Regions from separate parts of the Homo sapiens genome. Here regions 1, 2, 4 and 5 are each linked to region 3. Evidence: promoter capture Hi-C in 16 types of primary human blood cells and fetal thymus (Javierre and others, 2016). All regions are on one chromosome and are shown on one strand. The core of a region is centred on a gene start or on the middle of the fragment in contact, and the rest is flanking DNA. Distances in the headings are between cores, read along the strand shown.

Evidence for each region. Contacts are between HindIII fragments. The CHiCAGO score rates a contact against its expected background, and 5 or more counts as called.
Region 1: a contact is called between a fragment that was not itself captured here and the fragment with the promoter of ZNF235 in region 3, in 1 of 17 cell types (non-activated CD4 T cells). The highest score is 6.9, in non-activated CD4 T cells.
Region 2: a fragment that was not itself captured here is called in contact with the fragment with the promoter of ZNF235 in region 3 in 1 of 17 cell types (naive B cells); the score reaches 6.2 in naive B cells.
Region 4: a contact is called between a fragment that was not itself captured here and the fragment with the promoter of ZNF235 in region 3, in 1 of 17 cell types (activated CD4 T cells). The highest score is 5.4, in activated CD4 T cells.
Region 5: a fragment that was not itself captured here is called in contact with the fragment with the promoter of ZNF235 in region 3 in 1 of 17 cell types (total CD4 T cells); the score reaches 5.7 in total CD4 T cells.

Annotation. Positions count from the first base shown.
Region 1 is chr19:36,775,721-36,779,979 of GRCh38, forward strand. LOC728485 (a long non-coding RNA gene) reads left to right here. Exons shown (of 2, transcript NR_164117.1): 2 at 1-1,358. Among named protein-coding and RNA genes, the nearest start is that of ZNF850, 5.0 kb to the left of the region's middle. The HindIII fragment of the contact is 2,027 bases long and covers 1,528-3,554 here.
Region 2 is chr19:36,749,261-36,753,732 of GRCh38, forward strand. ZNF850 (zinc finger protein 850) reads right to left here. Exons shown (of 5, transcript NM_001193552.2): 5 at 1-1,544. Among named protein-coding and RNA genes, the nearest start is that of ZNF850, 21 kb to the right of the region's middle. The HindIII fragment of the contact is 2,006 bases long and covers 1,081-3,086 here.
Region 3 is chr19:44,303,059-44,307,538 of GRCh38, forward strand. It overlaps ZNF235 (zinc finger protein 235), which reads right to left and starts at 1,967. Exons shown (of 5, transcript NM_004234.4): 1 at 1,913-1,967; 2 at 332-394. The coding sequence starts at 346. RefSeq lists enhancers at 1,750-2,303, 2,880-3,381, 3,382-3,881. The HindIII fragment of the contact is 5,796 bases long and covers 1,534-4,480 here.
Region 4 is chr19:51,581,515-51,585,903 of GRCh38, forward strand. It overlaps ZNF175 (zinc finger protein 175), which reads left to right. Exons shown (of 5, transcript NM_007147.4): 3 at 1-3; 4 at 273-368. Among named protein-coding and RNA genes, the nearest start is that of LINC01530, 11 kb to the right of the region's middle. The HindIII fragment of the contact is 2,613 bases long and covers 205-2,817 here.
Region 5 is chr19:37,210,667-37,214,622 of GRCh38, forward strand. No RefSeq gene overlaps it. Among named protein-coding and RNA genes, the nearest start is that of ZNF585B, 2.1 kb to the left of the region's middle. The HindIII fragment of the contact is 8,273 bases long and covers 1-3,956 here.

The sequences.
Region 1 (4,259 bases), core at 1,291-3,790, 7.5 Mb before region 3:
GACGGCCTCCGCCGCCCGACTCACACACACCCTCCCCCGGGAACGGCAAGTCTCCTCGGGTTCCAAGGACAGGGTCAAAAGACAAGAGGCCCGAGGCGCTCCCGCCGTGATTTGCAGCCAGATACCGTTGGGAGCGCAGCCAGAGAGCGTTGGGAGCGTGCGTACCTCCAGCCCAACATGGCGGCGGCAGCGGCCGCCCCCGACCCCAAGCCCTCCCTCAGGGCCCGAGGCTTCTCCTCAGGGCCTTCCGGTGGGCGGGAAGACAGCGCAACCCCGCCAGGCCTTTCTCGTCGCTGCGCCTGCTCGCTGAAGGAGTCACCTACCCGACGAGACTAACGGCTGCGGCGCGGAAGCCCCACAGCCCGCCGAGAACCAGGAATACGAGAGCCAGGCGGCGCGGCGGCGGGACCTGTACTGAGCAAGAAAGAAGATTTCAAAGTAATTTATTGTTATGAGATCCGTGCTTTTATCTTGTCTCAGACTCCCAATGATAGGCACATACTCTCCTCTGTACATTTAATGAAACTACTAAAATATTTCGATTTAAATCTTCCACCTATTTGTTTTCTGTGTATCCTACCTGTTCCCGACCTTGACATTTTCAAAGAATACAGGTTACTTATTTTGTTTTTTGGTGGTGGTGAGTTTTTTTGGGGTTTTGTTTTTTGGTTTTTGGTTTTATTTTTGGAGACAGGGCTTTGCTGTATCGCCCAGGCTGGAATACAGTGGCGCGATGATAGCTCACTGCAGCCTCGAACTCCTGGGCTCAAGGGACCCTCCTGCTTCAGCCTCCCGAGTAGCTGGGACTACAGGCCTGCGCCACCACGCCCGGGTAATTTTTTATTTTTTGTAGAGATGGGGTGTTCTATGTTGCCCAGTGTGGTCTCAAACTCTTGGGCTCAAGAGATCCTCCCACTTCTGCTGCCCAAAGTGCTAGGATTACAGGCATGAGCCACCGCGCCGGGACAGTTATTTTGTAGAGTGTTCTTTAATTTGGATGTACCTCATCTTTTATGTATCTTTGGGAGGAATACCACATAACTCATGTGGTTTATCCCATCGAGAGACACACAGTGTCAATGTGTTCCATTCTTGGTGATGTTAACTTTTATTACTTAGTGAAAATAATTCTAAGAGATTTCACCACTGTAGAGTGAATAAATGAATATGTGGGATTCATCAATGAATAAGTAAAAGGATGCCAACTGGCAAAAGAACTGAGTTGGGAGGATGGCTTGAGCCTGGGAGGTCGAGGCTGCAGTGAGCCGTGATGGCACCACTGCCCTCCAGCCTGGGTGACAAAGCAAGACCCCGTCTCAGAAAAAATTAAATAAATAAATAAATACCCAGCACCTGAACATCTCGGGCATTTCCTGTGCCTCTTATATTGGGTCCCTGGTTTCTTGGAGCGTATGTCTTTTTTTTTTTTTTCTTGGTTTAGCTTCTCATTTTTGTAAAAAACACGTTCTTATTTTGTTTACCATTTTGACAAAGGCGAATTTGGGTTAAAACTTTGGGACCCTTATAAGCTTGACAGTGTCTGTATTCTACCTCTTTTGGATGACACCTTAACTAGGTTTGAAATTTTAGGTTGAATGTGGTTTTCACTTAGAATTTTGAATTATATAACATTGTCTGCTAGCTTACAGTGTTTATCTTAAAATATGACAATTTGATTTGTGTTCTGTTACTGTTCTTTGTCTTTCAAAGCATTTAAAGGCCAGGCTCAGTGATTCATGCCTGTAATCCCAGAGTTTTGGGAGTACGAGGCAGGAGGATTGCCTGAGCTCAGGAGTTCAAAACCAGCCTGGATGACATAAGGAGACCCTGTTTTCATAAAAGTAAAAATAGGCCGGGTGTGGTGGCTCACACCTGTAATCCCAGCACTTTGGGAGGTCGAGGTGGGCAGATCACCTGAAGTCAAGAGTTTGAGACCAGCCTGGCCAACATGGTGAAACGCTGTCTCTACTAAAAACACAAAATATTAGTTGGGTGAGGTGGCATGCACCTGTAGTCCCAGGTACTCAGGAGGCTGAGGCAGGAGAATTGCTTGAACCCAAGAGGGCATGGTTGCAGTTGAGCCAAGATCGCGACACTGGACTCCAGCCTGGGCAATGGAGTGAGACCCTGTCTCAATAATAATAATAATAATAATTTTAAAAAACATTTAAAATTGTCTCTTCGTACTAGTTTTCTGAAATTTCACAGAAATGTGTTTTGGTGTGGTTCTTGTTTCTTTCGTTGTACAAGGTACTCAGTGGATCTTTGTATTAATATTTTGAAGACTCATGATCTGTGTTTCTAGAAATCGCCTTTTGTTTGTTCTGTGAAGTTTTCTTCCATTCATTTTTCTTCTCTCTTTCTGAAATTCTAAACATCCTTTTAGTTGGATGTTATAATTTCTGATTTCTTCTGGTAGTTTTGTCATCTTTCATCCCTTTTATTTTTATTTATTTTTATTTTTTGAGATGGAGTCTCGTTCTGTCGCCAGACTGGAGTACTGCGGCGCGATTTCGGCTCACTGCAACCTCCGACTCCCTGGTTCAAGCAATTCTCCTGCCTTAGCCTCCTGAGTAGCTGGGATTACAGACACCTGCCACCACACCTGGCTAATTTTTGTATTTTTAATAGAGACGGAGTTTCACCATGTTGGCCAGGATCGTCTCGATCTCTTGACCTCGTAATCCGCCCACCTCAGCCTCCCAAAGTGCTGGGATTACAGGCGTGAGCCACCAAGCCGAACCACGCATTGTCTATTTTCTCATTATTTATAGCATTGTTTTGCAGCATACTTGTTGGAGTCAAACATTTGTTACTATCCAATTATTATTATTGTTATTTGAGATGGCCTTTTGCTCTATCGCCCAGGCTGGAGTGCAGTGCTGCACTCCTAGCTCACTGCAGCCTCAACCTCCTGGGCTCAGGTGATCCTCCCACCTCAGCCTCTCAAGTAGCTAGGACCACAGGTATGTGCCACCACACCCAGCTAATTTTTTTATTTTTTATAGAGACGGGGTTTGACCGTCTCCAGGCTGGTGTCGAACTCCTAGGCTCAAGCAATCTGACTGCATCAGCCTCCCAAAGTGCTGGGATTACAGGTGTGAGCCACTGTGCCCAGCCCAACTATCATCATCTTTATTTTTATTATTATTATTTTTTGAGACAGAGTCTCACTCTGTCACCCAGGCTGGAGTGCGATGGTATAATCTCAGCTCACTGCAACCTCCGCCCCCGCCCGGTTCAAGCGATTCTCCTGACTCAGCCTCCCAAGTAGCTGGGGTTACAGGTGCTTGCCACCGCGCCCAGCTAATTTTTGTATTTTTAGTAGAGATGGGGTTTCACAATCTTGGCCAGGCTGGTGTTGAACTCCTGACCTTGTGATCTATCCGCCTCGGCTTCCCAACGTGCTGGGATTACAGGTCTGAGCCACCGCGCCTGGCCACTATCTTATTATTAAATAATGTTACATGCAGTGTCTTTGGGGAGAGAATTCAGTTTTTCAGAGACAGACTTTGCTCATTTCCTGATTTGTTCATTTTAATTCAAATAGTAAAAGCTTTAGAAAGGCATGAGGATTGCTTGACTCCAAGAGTTCAAGACCAGCCTGGGTAACAAAGCAAGACCCCATCTCTACAAAAAACACTTTTTAAATTAGCCAGGCCTTGTGGTATGTACCTGTAGTCTCGGCTACTGGGAAAGGTGAGTTGCGAGGATCTCTTGGGGCCAGGAGTTGAAGGCTGCAGTGAGCTATGATTGCACCACTTCGCTCCATCCTATGCAACAGAGCAAGACTCTGCCTCGGTCAATCAATCAGTAAAGATACTTATCAAAAGTAAGCAGACATGCAGGCAGATCACCTGAGGTCAGGAGTTCGAGACCATCCTGTCCAGCATAGTGAAACCCTATCTCTACTAAAAATACAAAAATTAGCCGGGTGTGGTGGTGGGCGCCTGTAATCTCAGCTGCTCGGGAGGCTGGGGCAGGAGAACCACTTGAACCTGGGAGACGGAGGTTGCAGTGAGCTGAGATCGCACCATTGCACTCCAGCCTGGGTGACAGAGCAAAACTCCGTCTCACAAAAAAAAGTAAGCAGACATGTCTGCTGCCTACGTGAGGTTTACATTCTAGTCTGGGAGAAAAAAAAGATTTTAAAGTAAAAGGAGAAAATGAGGTAATTTTATATCGTGATCAATACTATGAAATAAATCAATAGGTGGTATAAGCAGTAACTTGAGGGATACTTCCCGTAGCATTGATAG
Region 2 (4,472 bases), core at 834-3,333, 7.6 Mb before region 3:
TTCCTTACAGTGATAGGGTTTCTCACCAGTGTGAATTCGCTGATGTTGAATTAGTGCTGAGCGAGAAGTAAAAGATTTTCCACATTCTTTACAATCATAGGGTTTCTCACCAGTGTGAACTGCCTGATGTCCAATTAGCCCTGAGCGAAAAGTAAAAGATTTTCCACATTCCTTACAATGATAGGGTTTCTCACCAGTGTGAATTCGCTGATGTTGAAGTAGTGCTGAGCCAGAAGCAAAAGATTTTCCACATTCTTTACAATTATAGGGTTTCTCACCAGTGTGGATTCGCTGGTGTCGATTGCGTGTTGAGCGAAAAGTAAAAGATTTTCCACATTCCTTACAACAATAGGGTTTCTCACCAGTGTGAATCCGCTGATGTTGAAGTAGTGCTGAGCCCGAAGCAAAAGATTTCCCACACTCCTTACAATCATAGGGTTTCTCACCAGTGTGAATTCGCTGATGTTGAATTAGTGTTGAGCCAGCAGTAAAAGATTTTCCACATTCTTTACAATCATAGGGTTTCTCACCAGTGTGAATTGCCTGGTGTCCAATTAACCCTGAGCGAAAAGTAAAAGATTTCCCACATTCCTTACAATCATAGGGTTTCTCACCAGTGTGAATTCGCTGATGTCGAATTAGAGCTGAGTGAAAAGTAAAAGATTTTCCACATTCCTTACAGTCATAGGGTTTCTCACCAGTGTGAATTCGCTGATGTCGAATTAGTGCTGAGCCTGAAGCAAAAGATTTTCCACATTCCTTACAATCATACGGTTTCTCACCAGTGTGAATTTGCTGGTGTCGAATTAGTGTTGAGCCAACAGTAAAAGATTTTCCACATTGCTTACAATGATAGGGTTTCTCACCAGTGTGAATTTGCTGATGTTGATTTAGTGTTGAGCCAGAAGTAAAAGATTTCCCACATTCTTTACATTCATAAGGTTTGTCACCAGTATGAATTCTCCAATGTTGAATAAGATGTGCAGACGGTCTAAAGGCCTTCACGGATTCCTGACACTCATGAGGTCTCTCATCTGTATACATTTTCTGGTGTTGAATAAGATGTGAGCCAGAAATAAAAGCTTTTCCATATTCTTTACATGCACAGGGCTTTTCCCCAGTATGAATTCTCTGATGTTTAACAAGATAGGAAAAGTGATGAAAGGCCTTCCCACACTCCTTACATTTATAGAGTTTTTCACCAGTATGGGTTTCTTGCTGTTGTGTAAGTTCTGAGCCATACTTAAAAGCCATACATTCTGTGGATTTATACAGTTTCTCTCCAGGATGAATCCGATGATGCAGAGTGAGAGATGTCTGTAGGCAGAAAGTTGGTGTTGTTTCATAAGTCATTATTGCTTTTTCCAAATATCGCTCCTGATTTATATCTTGGTGCTGAAACTGGCCTTTGCATTCCCAGTCATCTCTGACACTGGAGCCCACAAGGCTATGACATTTTTCCATTCTCACCCACTGAGATGATGTTACTTCATAGATTTCTTTTGGCAAACATGAATCTTTGGTCTTACATCTAAACTCCGAGTCTGAAAAATAACCAGAAAGCAAAAACATAGCATTTCCTTGTTGAGTAGAAATAAAAACATCTATGGTAGAAAGGGGAGACAAACTGAAAATAATGTCCTTAAGAATTAAAGATGTGTTGGGCGTGGTGGCTCATGCCTGTAATCCCAGCGCTTTGGGAGTCTGAGACAGGAGGATTGCTTGAGCCCAGGAGTTCAAGGCTGCAGTGAGCTGTGATTGTGCCACTACACTCCAGCCTGGGCCACAGAGCAAGACCCTGTCTTAAAAAAAAAAAAAAAAAAAAAAAGATGGTGTACATACATGGTATACATGGTGATAGTATGTACCCTTATATGATGTGATGAGAACAGTATTTTATCTCTGTGATCTTCCTTCTAAAAATACTGAACTCCAGTCTAATCACTGGAAAAACACCAGACAAATCCCAAAATGAGAGACAATCTATGAAATACCTGGCCAGTACTCTCCAAAACTATTGAGATAATCACAAACAAGGAAAGCCTGAAAAGCTGTCAAAGCAAAGAGGAGCCAAGGGAAACATAATGACTCAATGCAATGTGTTAGCCTAGCCAAGATCCTAGAATAGGAAAAAAGGACATTAGGTAAAAGCTAAGGAGGCCAGGCACAGTGGCTCACACCTATAATCCCAGCACTTTGGGAGGCTGAAGCGGGCGGACCACAAGGTCAGGAGTTCAAGACCAGCCTGGCCAACATGGTGAAACCCTGTCTCTATTAAAAATACAAAAATGAGCCAGACGTGTGGCCCATGCCTGTAATCTCAGCTACTCGGGAGGCTGAGACAGGAGAATCACTTGAGCCCGGGAGGCTGAGGTTGCAGTGAGCCAAGATCGTACCATTGCACTCCAGCCTAGGCAACAAAAACCAGACTCCATCTCAAAAAAAAAAAAAAAAAAAAAAAAAAGCTAAGGAAATCTGAGTAAAGTAGGGGTTTCCATTAATAATAATAGATCTCAGCACCATAGGAAAGGTAAATAATAATAACAACATTGCTTCAACAATGTTATTATTTAATAGGATCAACATTCATTCATTAATTATGACAAATGTACAAATATAAAATGTTAATGGGAAACTACATGTGATGTATATGGGAAGTCTCTGTACTAACCTCACAACTTTTCTGTAAGTCTAAAACTATCCTAAAACCTAAAGTTTACTTTTTTAAAGTGAGAAAGTAACATCTCACTAGCAAAAAGGCCAAGCAAATTTTTGTAAAAGACACAAATGGGGTATCAGTATCTAAAAATTAAAAAATGAATCATTGAAACTTAAAATTCAATGAATGAATTTGAATTGGCAGTATAAGAGTGCAATCATGATTTTTAAAAAATACTATACATCTTCATCCATTGAAGCCTTAGAAACAACCAATCTGGCAGCAATGAACACGCTAATGACAGATTACTGTCTCTAAATACCATTTCTTACTACACAGAACCTAGGCTCCTTGGAGCATCTTGGGATTAGAACAGAAAGTGTGCATTATGAGCATGGAAAAAGCTGGCATATTAGAAAAGCAAAGAAGCTTATTCAAGACTCCTAGGGTCATGTCAAAAAGACTCAGGAACCATTGTGAAGAGGGTCCCATTGGCCAAAGATGGGACAAGTTGAGCATGAATTCAAGAATAAAAACTGTAATCATTGTAATGTAATTACAATAAATCACATCAAATTTTTTTAAATCTGTGTGTTCATAAGGACAATTTTAAAATTACCTAGTAATTTTTAGGGGATGAGATGAGGAATGGCTGCTAACTTCACAAAAACAGAAACAACCAGATATGTGCTTCTTGATGAAATACACAATACTAATATCACATAGTCTGTTTATAGGAAAGAAAGGAGTAAAGGGAGGAGAGCTAAATGTTAAATGACAGATGATCCAGTTTCTTCAACATATAAATTTCAAGGAGAAAAAGAGAAAGAAATCAACAACAAAACCTCACTGGAATGGTTAAATAACTGGAAATGCAAAAGCAAGGTTAAAAGTCATAAAGAAAAGTCAAAGAATTCATTTGTCTTCCTGAAAGTAATACTGAAAGAACAGGGAGCAAACTATATTCAAGATGGAACAGCTAAAATTTATTCAGAAGTGATGAGGTTTTCTAAAAAAAATCTGAGGTGCCATGAGTGCCATGGATGGTAAATTTTAAAAGTTCTACGGGGCCAGGTGCGGTGGCACACGCCTGTAATCTCAGCACTTTGGGAGTCTGAGGCAGGTGGATCACCTGAGGTCAGGAATTCAAGACCAGCCTGGTCAACATGACAAAACCCCGACTTTACTAAAAATACAAAATAAGCCAGGCATGGTGGTGCACGCCTGAATTCTCAGCTACTCAGGGGGCTGAGGCAGAAGAATTGCTTAAATCCAGGAGACAGAGTTTGCAGTGAGCCGAAATTGTGCCACTGCATTCCAGCCTGGGCGACAGAGCGAGACTTCATCTCAGGAAAAAAAAAAAAAAAAAAAAAGTAAAAGTTCTATAAGCCAGGCATGGTGGTTCATGGCTCTAATCCCAACACTTTGGGATGCCAAGACTGCAAGATTACCAGAGCCCAGGAGTTCAAGACCAGCCTGGGCAACAGCCTGGGACACTGTCTCAAAAAAAAAAAAAAAAAAAAAAAAGCCGGGTGTGGTGGCACATGCCTGTAGCCTCAGGTACTCGGGAGGCTAAGGCGGGAGGATCACCTGAGCCCGGAAAGTCAATGCTGCAATGAGCTGTGGTCAAGCCACTGCACTCCAGCCTGGGTGACCACGGGAGAACCTGTCTCTTAAAAAAAAATTATGCATGATGAAATCCCAATAATAAGAACAAAATGGACAGGAAAAAAAAAAATAGCTTACACACCATGCTTGCTATATGCCAGGCACTATTTTCACTGCTTTACACATTTACTATATAAGCTCATTT
Region 3 (4,480 bases), core at 717-3,216:
ATACGTATATATTTGTATATATAATACATATATACAAATATACGTATATTTCTTATAAATATATACATATATATTTGTATATAAATATAAAATATATACGTATATATAAATATATAATTATATAGAAATATATTTTAGAAATTAACAGATATATATATATCTCTCTGTTAATTTTTATACTATTATATTGAAATAAAAGGCAACAACCTGGCATATAACAACATTCCAAGTGCCTTTCGTTCCCTTTTACTGTTCCCAAACAGGAAAAATGTGTCCAATCTTTGTGAAATGAGATGTCATTTTAAGAAACACAAAGGCAAACCAAACTTACCTGGAACTTGGTCATTTTTCCCCTCCTCCTTCTGGGAAAAGGCAGAGTTCCGGGGAAGTGAACCTGAGGGAGGGAAAGGCATCATGAGATAGGTTAGGGATGGCATTAGTCACCATGGCACTTTTATGTGACACTTCAGAGAAAGGTCCCCCTGTCTCTAGGCAGACACAGTTGCACACGGCTTAGTGAGGAGAACGGGAGCTAGCTCCCAGCTACCCCTCGGCCCCCTCAACCAGCTGCTTTTGTTCATGAACATTTCATATTAACAGACCTAAATCAAATACAGCTCTCTGTGTACTCCTTCTGAACTTTAGTTTCCAAGGAAATGAGACACAGACAGGCAGGGGAATGTAACAGAGCCAAAATGCCTGGCTTCAAATTTTGGCATTTCTACCTATTTTCAACTGATCAGCAGTATAAACCTTAAGCGAATTATTAATCTCTCTGTGCCTTAATTCAGTTACCTGTGAATGGGGACAATAATAATGCCTGTATTCTCTATTTCCTGCAGCTTCTGACAAGCAAGTGCTATTATGCTTCATAAAACTGCCCTTTTGAGTATGCTTTCTAGAAAATGAATCTTTTAAGAAACCCAGAACTCAAAAATAATTGCTCTGTCCTGTGAGTTACCATTACCCTCAGAAAAGTCTGTAACTGTGATTGGTTGTCTAACATAATTAGTTCCGTTGGTAATGATAGTTAAACTGCCACAGGTTTTTTTTTCCTCCAACAGATGTAATTACTTGCAAATGTTACTAAGCTGGAGGAGCCTCAAGAAAGTCTCTTTTTCCACATGCATGAAAGCAATGACTAATAAAAACCTAAAACTCTCTAAGAAATGGTGTTACACTTAAGTTAACCACACGGGATTATTGGTTATAACCACATTATACTGAACATTTATTAGGGCCTCAGGACACCTCTGGCACTCTGCAAATCCGTAATGACGATCGCTTATCTGAGATAAAACACACAGGACATTCCCCAGGCTCCGCTGGAACTAATTCCTGTCTCCTAAACAAGAGGCTAGAAAAGTCCAAGAATCCAGGAACGGCCCCACATCAGGCAAGGATTAGAGAAGGGACAGCGGCTCCGTAGCTGGATCTCCTAGACTCAGAGGAGTTTCCAAACAACAGGCGTCTTTTTCAGTATTATAACAGAATTAACGGTGGCATCCAACATTTTCCTATGCACTGGTTTTAAGCTTATTTCTATAAAACCTCATTTAATTCTCACAAGAACATCACTGGGAACGCACTAACCCTTTACAGGCACGAGGAAACTGAGACAAGGAGAGATTAAGTAACTTGCCCAATATTTTACTGCGAGGAGCAGGCAGGACTGGCTGGTAGGTGCGTGAGGACGGCTAGGGCAGCAGACCCTCAACCTCGAAGGACGACGCGAGCCCGCCTCCCACGCAAGAGGTTCTGCCGAGGGGACGCAAACTCCCGCAGCCTCCCAACCCCGCCCTCCAGCGCTGGCCGCGGCTTCTCTTCCCCAAGCCAAGGACGGGTTCATTGCTGGCCCCACGCCTAGGCAAAGAGGGCTCGGAGAAGTCTTGGAGACCCGGAGCTGACTCACCTCCCTGGGAGATATCTCAGATCCGACCTCGCCTTCCTGGAGCGGAAGTGCCTCCGAGTGCCCACGGTTCGTGGACTCCACTTCCCAGAATTCCTAAGCGGAAGCGTCTCAGAGTTCTCTCACTCCTGGACTACAGTTCCCAGAATGCTCCAAGGGCAGCGCTTCCCACCAGCTGGGCTTTGTTTTGACTCAAGCCGGTTGGGTTTGAGCCACTTCTCTGGTGCTACTACTGTGAGATTCGTTTTTGTTTTATTCATTTTTAAAAGCTCATGAGAAAATAATTGTAAAATTTTTAAAGTGATGACATATAAAAATGAAAAGTGCAGCTTGTATTATTAAAATAAGTTAGAAACCAAAATTTTTCGCAGAAGCAGAGGGTAGGCTAAAATGGGAAGCGTAAAAGTGACTTAGGCTGAGCTCCGATGGACGCTGAACGTTAAGGAACACCAGATCTCAAACTTGTGTCAAATGCCGGCTCCCCAAATATCATCAACTCAACCTGTTGATAAGACAAAAAACAGAATTTATTGTTGATTGCAGTAATGGAGAACAACACTTCGACGGAGCGTTGGCACCTTCACAGAGCAAAGTGTCAAGGCAAGGTTGGAACTGATTGAGAACTGGATGTTTAAGGCGGGTCTTTCAATGCAAGGGATTTTATTAGTATTGCATAATGATCATGATACTACAGTCCAGGATTGGTGGATATAGCAAGGATTTTTGAAGCAAAGAATCTTAAATTGCAATCTATTGACACTTTCTTTGGAAGAGATTGAAAATTTGATGGGTCTCTGTGGAAGTTCCCATAATGAACAATTAAACAGTTTGCTTGGGCAGGAATCTCCTGGAATAAAGGCCTGCTGATGAAGACAGCTGAACAATCATGTTAGTGCCGAAAGTAAATTGTGATGAAACGGGAAAAGTTCACTTCTCCCTCTCCCAGGGCATGTGATGGGGTGTGGCTCGCTTCTTCGTGCCCAGCCGCTCAAACCTCTAGGGGAGCATGCACACGGGCAGGTTGTAGGGCTCCAACCCCACGGCAGTGTCTAGGGGTGAATGTTTACAGCTCCTGAAGCCCCAGTGGGCGTGTGTTATAGGGTGCTTTTTTAGTTCAGCCATCTGTAGGAGGCTTGTGTTAGCTCAATTAGACCCCTGACTTATCGCAAGCAAGAGAGGGCTTTCTGTATCCCAGAGGTTCTTGCCTTGGTGTACCAGAAGAATCGCATCACACATAGGCTTGGAGAAAGAGTGCAAGGATTGGAGAAACCTTGGAGAACGATTTGTAAGTAGCTCTCAGCAGAAGGGGGAGCCAGAAGGGAGATGGTTTTCGCCTGGAGTCAGCCTCTCAGCGGCCTGGGCGCTCCTCCGACTACCCAGGCCAAACTGCGTTATTCCACCGGTTAATGGCCTGCTGGCCTGCCGGTCTCTTCAGTGTGCTCTTTTGCCGACCCGCTCCCCTCGACAGCCTCTCGACAGCCAGCTGTTTGTGTGTCCGCCAATGCTCTCCTCTCAACGTCCAGCAGCTTGTGTCTCTGCCTGCTAGGGTATCAGGGTTTTTATAGGCACAGGATGGGGGCGTGGTGGGCCAGGGTGGTCTTGGGAAATGCAATATTTGGGCACAAAGGCAGGAATGCCTGTCCTCACCTAGGTCCGTGGCCACAGGCCTGGGGGTAGAGCCCTAGTCAGGGACCACACCCTTCTCCCCTCCAGCACTTCCATTCCCCTCTTCCGTATCAGTGAGGGGCAGGGAAAGAGGATGGAGTTTTAGTCCTTAGTGTCCAAGTTGTGTATATTTAGGGGTCGGTGACAAGGAGAGAAGGGAGTAAAGTGTTTGACTCTTTTCCCTCCATTATTCCTCAAGGTACCTAAGGGCTCATGACAGTGTTTTGTTTAATGTGCTATTCGTTCTAATATACTAAGAACCCACAAAAAGGCAATATAAATATTAAGCCAGAGAAATATCTTGAACTTCATTTATTTTAAATGTGTACTGTTATGGCAAACAAAAGCAGCTCCATTGGCCGGGAATCTAAGACAACGTTGTAATATGGGCATGTGTAAAATCTTGAATTGTTTTCTAATTTGTGTTCGGCTTCAAATATTTCATTACATACTTTGATCCTGATCCTGACATAAATGAAATTAAGTGTCTTATGGTTGAATAAACTAGATGAAACAAAGAAGCCGTGATTTTTCTCCTAGGCAGGTATAAATATACAGGTGACCATTGAAAAACACAAGGGTTAGGGGAGCTGACCCCTGGGCAGTTGAAAAATCTACCTGTAAGTTTTGACTCCCCCAAAACTTAACTTACTTAACTACCAATAACCTGTTGACCAGAAGCCTTACCAATAACATAAACAATTAACATATATATGTGTATATATATATATGTTTTTTGTTTTGTTTTTTGAGACAGAGTCTTGCTCTTGTTGCACAGGCTGGAGTGTAATGGCACCTCCCGGGTTCAAGCAATTCTCCTGCCTCAGCCTCCCGAGTAGCTGGGATTACAGGCATAAACTATCATGCTCAGCTAATTTTGTATTTTTTTTTTTTTTTTAGAGACGG
Region 4 (4,389 bases), core at 261-2,760, 7.3 Mb after region 3:
TGGGTGAGCACAACTGACCTGGGAATCTTGGCTGGATCCTGTTGAGGAGATTTCCTTCCTCCTCATTGCAGAACGCAGTGGGATATCAAAGTATGTCATGACTCTTTTATCGGTTTGTCCTGGATTGTTTGTTTCTTTTGGGCACCTTCTAGTATTATTTTGTGCCCAGTGGAAAATGTTGACTTTTCTAATGAGCCAGTGTAAAGCTTCATTGAATGGCCTCTAAAACTGAAGAAGCTACACCCAAATCCAGTATCCTTTCTAATTAACAGGGTATCACATTCCCAACCCAGAGGTCATCTTCAGAATGCTAAAAGAAAAGGAGCCGCGTGTGGAGGAGGCTGAAGTCTCACATCAGAGGTGTCAAGGTGAGTAAGTTGTACCCGGGCAAATGTAGATATCTTTGCAGGGAACCATTACCAGTCTACCATACTTTTCTATTCCCTCCATTCCCCCAGTGATGGCCCGTAGATTGCCTCCTACTCCCAGTTTCCCATCAAACACTGTAAATGTGCTATAAATGTTAAATGTCCTATAGGGGCTGCCTTAAGAATTTTCCATTGGTGAATACTCAGGAATGGGATTGCCTGGTCCTGGAGATAAGTATACTTGACTAAATCAACCATATTGCTCTTCTGATGGGCTGCACCAGTTCACACTCCCCATGTGCAGTGCACAAGGATTTGCATTTGCACATCTTGCTTGCTAACACTTGGCATTAACAAAATTGGTGAATTTATAGCCCTACTGATAGGTGAAAGGGCTGTTTCATTTTTTTTTGTTTTTGGTTTTGGTTTTTTTGAGACAGAGTCTCACTCTGTCACCTAGGCTAGGGTGCAGTGGCACGATCTTGGCTTACTGCAACCTCTGCCTCCTGGGTTCAAGTGATTCTCCTGCCTCAGCCTCCCGAGTAGCTGGGACTACAGGCACCCGCCACCACACTCGGCTAATTTTTTGTATTTTTAGTAGAGACAGGGTTTCACCCTGTTAGCCAGGATGGTCTCGATCTCCTGACCTTGTGATCTGCCCACCTCGGCCTCCCAAAGTGCTGGAATTATAGGCGTGAGCCACCGCACCCAGCCTGTTTCATTGCTTAAGTGTTATTTTTCTAATAACTGAATGGTGAGAGCCTCTCATCTTATCTGTTATCTGATTGGCTTTTTCATTTGTTTGTTGCATTTTCTTACCGCTTATCTCTTTACGTCCATGGAGTTTTCTGCCTTTTTTTTCCAGTTTTTTTGCCCCTAATTTTATTTATTTTCTTTTCTTTGCTGGATCTGCTGTCTTCTTTTCCTCCCAGTTGTGGCACCTCTAGCTTGGGGCCCTGTTCTTCCATATGGGCATCTTTTCTTTTTTTTGAGGCAGAGTTTCACTCTTGTTGCCCAGGCTGGAGTGCAATGGCACGATCTTGGCTCACCGCAACCTCCGCCTCCCAGGTTTGAGTGATTCTCCTGCCTCAGCCTCCCAAGTAGCTGTGATTACAGGCATGCACCACCATGCCCGGCTAATTTTGTATTTCTAGTAGAGACGGGGTTTCTCCTTGTTGGTCAGGCTGGTCTCGAACTCCCGACCTCAGGTGTTCCGCCTGGCTTGGCCTCCCAAAGTGCTGAGATTACAGGCGTGAGCCACCGTGCCCGGCTATGGGCATCTTTTCCCACAGGAATTGACTTAAAGGACCCATCCATTCTGAACTCTTAGTCCTCATATTTTTATTCTAATGATTTATATATCAGTACCTCTAGTCCCTGTGCTTAAACTGTGTTCTGCTACCTTACTTAGCTCCACGGAGGACAGTTCCCATGAGATGACTCACTTCCTTAATTTTGGGAGATCAGAAATTGGAATCATCATCATCCAAATAAGGAATTCTCACCTGATAAATTTTGTGAGATTTTTCTGTTTCTGGGCTCAGAAACACAGTCCTCTAATTTAATTTATTACTTTGGAATTCTTACCAGTTTTTCTTGTTTTAATTAAGAAAAAAGTGACCCTTTTTCTTAATCCCAGTGGTATTACAACAAACTAGATCCCCATTTTCTCATATTTAGACAATTTTGTTCCCAGTGAGATATGTTGATTTCAGGTTTTTGAGTTTAGTCAAGATACTGACAGATTTTATGACCCCAAACATGGCTATTTTGTTTCTTTTTTCCTCAGTAGATATGATAAAAACAGGCAGTTCTATTTCCTACTGTGTAGGATTAACAAATTCTTTTCAGTGATATTGTCCTCATGGCCACATATTTCCAATTTAAAAATATACCTGAATAGTTTTCATCACTCATGCTCTGCTCCATTGTTTTTGTATGTTGTTTAATGTCTACTCCATAGAATGATTCACTTTGCATACACTCTGCTGATTACTTTGTACTTTCTTAATCTTCATTATATCAATGTTTAGCATGAGGAAACCATTGTATTTAAGATATAGGATTAGGATTTTTGTATTTAGGATACAGAAATTACTGATTTTCTGAAAATGGGCAGAAAAGAATATTTCACAGTATTTTAAAAGGATGCTTTAAATATTTGCTGAGATAAATTCAAAAGAACGGAGATTGTATTTGGATGGAGAGGACAATGGCATTAAATGTTAAAAGTATTAGCCTTTGTGCATCAATCATGTCTATTTCATGGAAGGCTACTCAAAAAGTAAGTGTATCAACATGGGAAGCATGGATAGCAAATGCTGGTGAAGTTCAGAAAAATGATGTCAGCCTAGAGGTGGAGTGACATTGGGAATTAATTTTAAGGGCATAGTACCTATAACTGGTTCAAGAAGCCATTTTGAATTGAAACAAAGAAGCAGATGAAGCAAGCTTAATGGGAATAGAGGACATGAGAGTGTGCTTGGATTTGAGAATAAATTGGACTTCTTTTTTGCAATCGACATTGTTAGGCTGTGTTGGAGAGTTGTGGAAAAGCTTTTCAGTACAGTTCTGATAGTTTACATTGAACATTTTGGGCAGTAATTTAAGTGTTACCAGGTTCAGCAAGATTTTTATGACCTGAATAAAGTGAGAAGTTAAAAATGTTTCAGATCGCTGCCTGGGGACACAGTGGAAGATTGCCAGAATAAATGACCACCTGTATATGGGTAAAATTGCTATTTAAGAGTGAAAAATGAAATAGAAAACAACCTATTTTAATAAGTGGGAAAAGGATGTGAATAGACATGTCTTCAAAGATGATATACAAGTGGCCAATAATAGGAAAAAATGCTCAACTTCACTAATTATGTGGGAAATGCAAATCAAAACCACTGGGTGATATCCCTTTACATCCATTAGAATGGCTACAATTAAAAAAACAGAATAACAAGTGTTGGCAAGGATATAGAGAAACTGGAATCCTTGTGTATTACTAGTGGGAATGTAAAATGGTGTAGTCCTATGGAAAACAGGATGATGATTTCTCAAAAATTAAACATAAAATTACCATATGATCCAGCAACTCCACTTCTGGGTAGATACCCACAAGAATTGAAAGCAAGGACCCAAACAGCTGTTTGTACACTCTTGTTCATAGCAGCACTATTCACAATATCCAAAAAGTGGAATTGTCCATTGACCAATGAATTGGTAAACAAAATGTGGTCTATACATACAATGAAATATTATTCAGCCTTAAAAAGGAAGAGGAATTATGAAACATGTTGCAGTGCGGATGAATCTTATCATGATGCTAAGTGAATAAGCCAGACACAAAAAATCCAAATGTATCATTCTACCTGTATGAGGTACTTTAAGTAGTCAATTCATAGAGACAGAATAAGATTGTGGCTGCCAGAGAATGAGGGATGGGGGAAAAGGGAAATTGTTTAATGGATACAGCATTTCAGTTTTGCAAGATGTAAAAGTTTTGGAGATCCATTGCACAACAGGGTGAATACAGGTAGCACTACTGAACTGTACAATACAAAATGGGCAAGATGGTAAATGTAATATTATGCACTTTTGCTACAATAAGAAAAAGTTAACAATAAAGATTAAAAGTGTCCTTTTTTTAAAAAAAGAATGAAAGATGATTGAGTTTTTTTGATAGGACAAGAGTCTGGGATACAGTTTAAGTGACTGAAAGCGAAAAGAAACTACATGTGATGTTCATACTCAGTATTAAAATCTGGTAGAAAAAGTAATAGTAAAATTTAGTAACTATTATTTTTATTGAGAACCTGCTGTGTTTTGTGCAGTATACTAGTAAAGTGCACAGGATGATCAGGGACTCTTATTCTTGGCAAAAAAACAAAACAAAACAAAAAACTAAACTAAAAAAGGCATATTTGATAGCATAAAGCCAAAAGTTCTAACAAAGAACAATTAATTTCAATGGAACAAGGGTGAAACAAATTCTGGGGAACAGCTTGCTTGTCCAGTCTTTTAGAATATA
Region 5 (3,956 bases), core at 1,282-3,781, 7.1 Mb before region 3:
GCGCTCACGGGCAGAGAATATAACCGCGCCCTTATGGTGTTTATTTGTGTGGGTCGCCATCTTTGATGCGTATCGATTCCGTACAGTGGAGGAGTCCGCCTCCTGGAGTGTTGACTAGAGTAAGGCAAGGATTTTCACATAGAATGCAAGACTGTAACCAGTGTGACCACGCTTGTACCCAAGAAGAAGTTCCTGAAGATAGGATCTGGAGCTTTATGTTTTTTTTTGTTTGTTTGTTTGTTTTGAGACAGAGTCTTGTTCTGTCGCCCAGGCTGGAGTGCAGTGGCGCCATCTCGGCTCACTGCAACCTCTGCCTCCCAGGTTCAAGCGATTCTCCTGCCTCTGCCTCCCGAGTAGCTGGGATTACAGGCAAGCGCCACCACACCCAGCTAATTTTTTTGTATTTTTAGTAGAGACGCAGTTTCACGTCTCTACTGGTCACGCTGGTCTCGAACTCCTGACCTCAAATGATCCACCCACCACGGCCTCCCAAAATGCTGGGGTTATAGGCGTGAGCCACCGCCTCCGGCTGTTATATTTACAATACCTAAGTTACCCCTTGGTTACGGCACACTGCAGAAAACAACGATTTACTAGGAGAAACCATGGGGGAACTAGGAAGCCAGGGATCCTGAGAGAAATAAGGGAGATAAGAGGAGGCATCAGGATGGTACAATCTATTTTTTGGAGACACCACTCAGGAGAAGGGTGGACTGGGATCTGAGTTCACTCCTGGGTGAAACCACTAGGCAAGACGGAGTTATGTCACAGTAGGTAGTATCCTGCAGGAAGGGAGGTACAATTTTTAGTAGTTGAAAACACATTAGGAAATAGGGTAGAAGTTGGGTTAGTACAATCCTCTTCTAGGAGATACCATGGAAGAGGGGTTAGAAGTCTAAGCATCCCCTTTGAAACGGCTGGTAGAAGGCTTTGGGAGGTATAGATATTTTAATCCCCTTAATCTCCATCAGCATCCACCCTAGCTAACTCAAGCACAACTATAGTAAGCAGCAACAATAAAAATAATAATAGTCTTGGCTGGTCGTGGTGGTTCATGCCTGTAATCCCAGCACTTTGGGAGGCCGAGGCGGGCACATCACCTTAGGTGGGGAGTTCGAGACCAGCCTGACCAACATGGTGAAACCCCGTCTCTACTAAAAATACAAAATTAGCTGGGCATGGTGGTGTGTGCCTATAATCCCAGCTACTTGGGGGGCTGAGGCAGGAGAATCGCTTGAACCCAGAAGGCGGAGGTTGCAGTGAGCCGAGATCATGCCATTGCACTCTAGCCTGGGCAACAAGAGCAAAACTCCATCTCAAAACAACAACAACAACAACAACAGCACAATAATAATAATAACAGTCTTTAATATGGCCAACGTGTGACTAAAAACACCTGAAGAAAATCTTGCTTTTTTTTTTTTTTTTTTTTTGAGACAGAGTCTCACTCTGTCACCCAGGCTGGAGTGTAATGGCACAATCATGGCTCACTGCAACCTTGACTGCCCAGGCTCAAAAGCAATCCCAGCTGGGCGCAGTGGCTCATGCCTGTAATCCCAACGCATTGGGAGGCCGAGGCAGGTGGATCATGAGGTCAAGAGATCGAGACCATCCTAGCCAACATGGTGAAACCCTGCCTCTACTAAAAATACAAAAATTAGCTGGGTGTGGTGGCGTGCGCCTGTAGTACCAGCTACTTGGGAGGCTGAGGCAGTAGAATCACTTGAACCCAGGAGGTGGAGGTTGCAGGGAGCTGAGATGGAGCCACTGCACTCCAGCCTGGTGACAGAGTGAGACTCCAAAGAACTGGGATTACAGGCGTGAGCCTCCGAGCCCGGCCAGGGAGTTTTGTTTTTTTTTTTTTTTGATTGCAAAGAGATGTTGAATTTTGTCAAATGCTTTTTCTGTTTCTATTGAGATGACCATATGATTTTTGTCCTTCATTCTGTCAATGTGATGTATTGCACATACTAATCTGCATATGTTAAACCATCTTTGCTTCCCTGGGATAAGTCCCACTTGATCATTGTGTATCTTTTTGACATGCTATTGGATTTGGTTTGCTAGTATTTTGTTGAGGATTTTTGCATCTGCGTTTATCAGGGATCTTGGCCTGTAGTTTTCTCTTTCTTCTGTCTTTGCCTGGTTTTAGTATGAGGATGGTGCTGGCCTCACAGAATCAGTTTGGAAAAATTCCTTCCCCTTCAATTTTTTTGGATTAGTTTGAGAAATATTAGAATTTGTTCTCCCTTAAAAGTTTGGTAGAATCAAATCCAAGAAGGGGATGATGAGAACCTCTAATTTTCAGGCAAACTGGGCAGTTGTTGGTAATCAGGTGACCTAGTAGTTGTCATTGGCATCTGAAGAGGTGGGCAGTCTTGTGGGACTGAGCAATTAAACTGTAAGGTCTGTGCTAACTCAGGTTAGTGTCAGAATTGAATTCAATTGTAGGACACCCATGTAGGGAGGGCTGGAGAAGTGGTGTCAGAAAAACTCCACATATTTTGTGTTAAAAACGAAACATTCTGGAAGTATTGAGTGTTGTGAGAGTATATATTTTTAAAACCAGTTTGTTTTTCCTATGCAACTGTATAAAAAGACATATCAAGTCTCACTCCCCCCACCACCCCAATCACTATAGGTTATCACTATAGGTATTGTTTCTGGTTCACGTTTCCAATACTTCTTTTTTCCTATCTTTTCTTTTTTTAGTGAATATAAACAAATGCTTATATCTAATCTAATTTCCTTTTCTTTTTTAGACGAACTATATGTTACACTGTTCTATACTTTCCATTTTTTATATATTCCAGAGTTAATGTCATTCCGTAGAGAGCTTCGTTTTTTTTTTTTTCTGCTGTGTGTGTATGGGCTGCATAAAACTTTATGATGTGACTGTGGTGATTTGAGCTGCTACCTTTATCAAATACTAAGCATCTATGTGGATGTTAATTTCTTTTTTTTTTGAGATGAAGTCTCACTCTGTCACCAGGCTGTAGCGCAGTGGCACAATCTCAGCTCACTGCAACCTCTGCCTCCCAGGTTCAAGCGATTCTCCTGCCTCAGCCTCCCGAGTAGCTGGGACTACAGGCGCGTGCCACCACACCCAGCTAATTTTTGTATTTTTAGTAGAGACGGGGTTTCATCATGTTGGCCAGGATGGTCTCGATCTCTTCACCTCATGATTCACCCGCCTTGGCCTCCCAAAGTGCTGGGATTACAGGTGTGAGCCACCGTGCCTGGCCGGGATGTTAATTTCTTTCTTTCTTTCTTTTTTTGAGACGGAGTTTTGCTCCTGTTGCCCAGGCTGGAGTGCAGTGGCTTAATCTCGGCTCACTGCAACCTCCGCCTCCCAGGTTCAAGCAATTCTCCTGCCTCAGCCTCCTGAGTAGCTGGGATGACAGGCGCATGCCACCATGCCCAGCTTATTTTTTGTATTTTTAGTAGAGATGGGGTTTCATCATGTTGGCCAGGCTGGTCTCGAACTCCTGACCTCAGGTGATCCACCCACCTCGGCCACCCAAAGGGCTGGGCGTGAGCCACCGCGCCCGGCCATGGATGTTTATTTCTCCATTTCCCATCCTCCTCCCTTTGTCTGTCTCTCTAACCACACACAAATAGCACACTGTTTTAAGTATAGAGGCTTTATCATGTACCTCATATAACTTCATGTAACTTCAATTCTACTTTCTGTCTCTATGAATACACCTATTCTAGGCACCTCATATAAGTGGATTCATACAATATTTGTCCTTTTGGTCTGGCTTATCTCACTCCGCATAGTGTTGAAAAAGAAAATAAATGGCTTTTATCTGAGGAATGCAAGCCTTCTTTATGTGATCAAGCCCAGAGAGGGGTTGGGATGACACAGCTGTTGTGGTGGCTCATGCCTGTAATCCCAGCACTTTGGGAGGCCTCGGTGGGAGGATTACTTGAGGCCCGGAGTTTGAAACTAG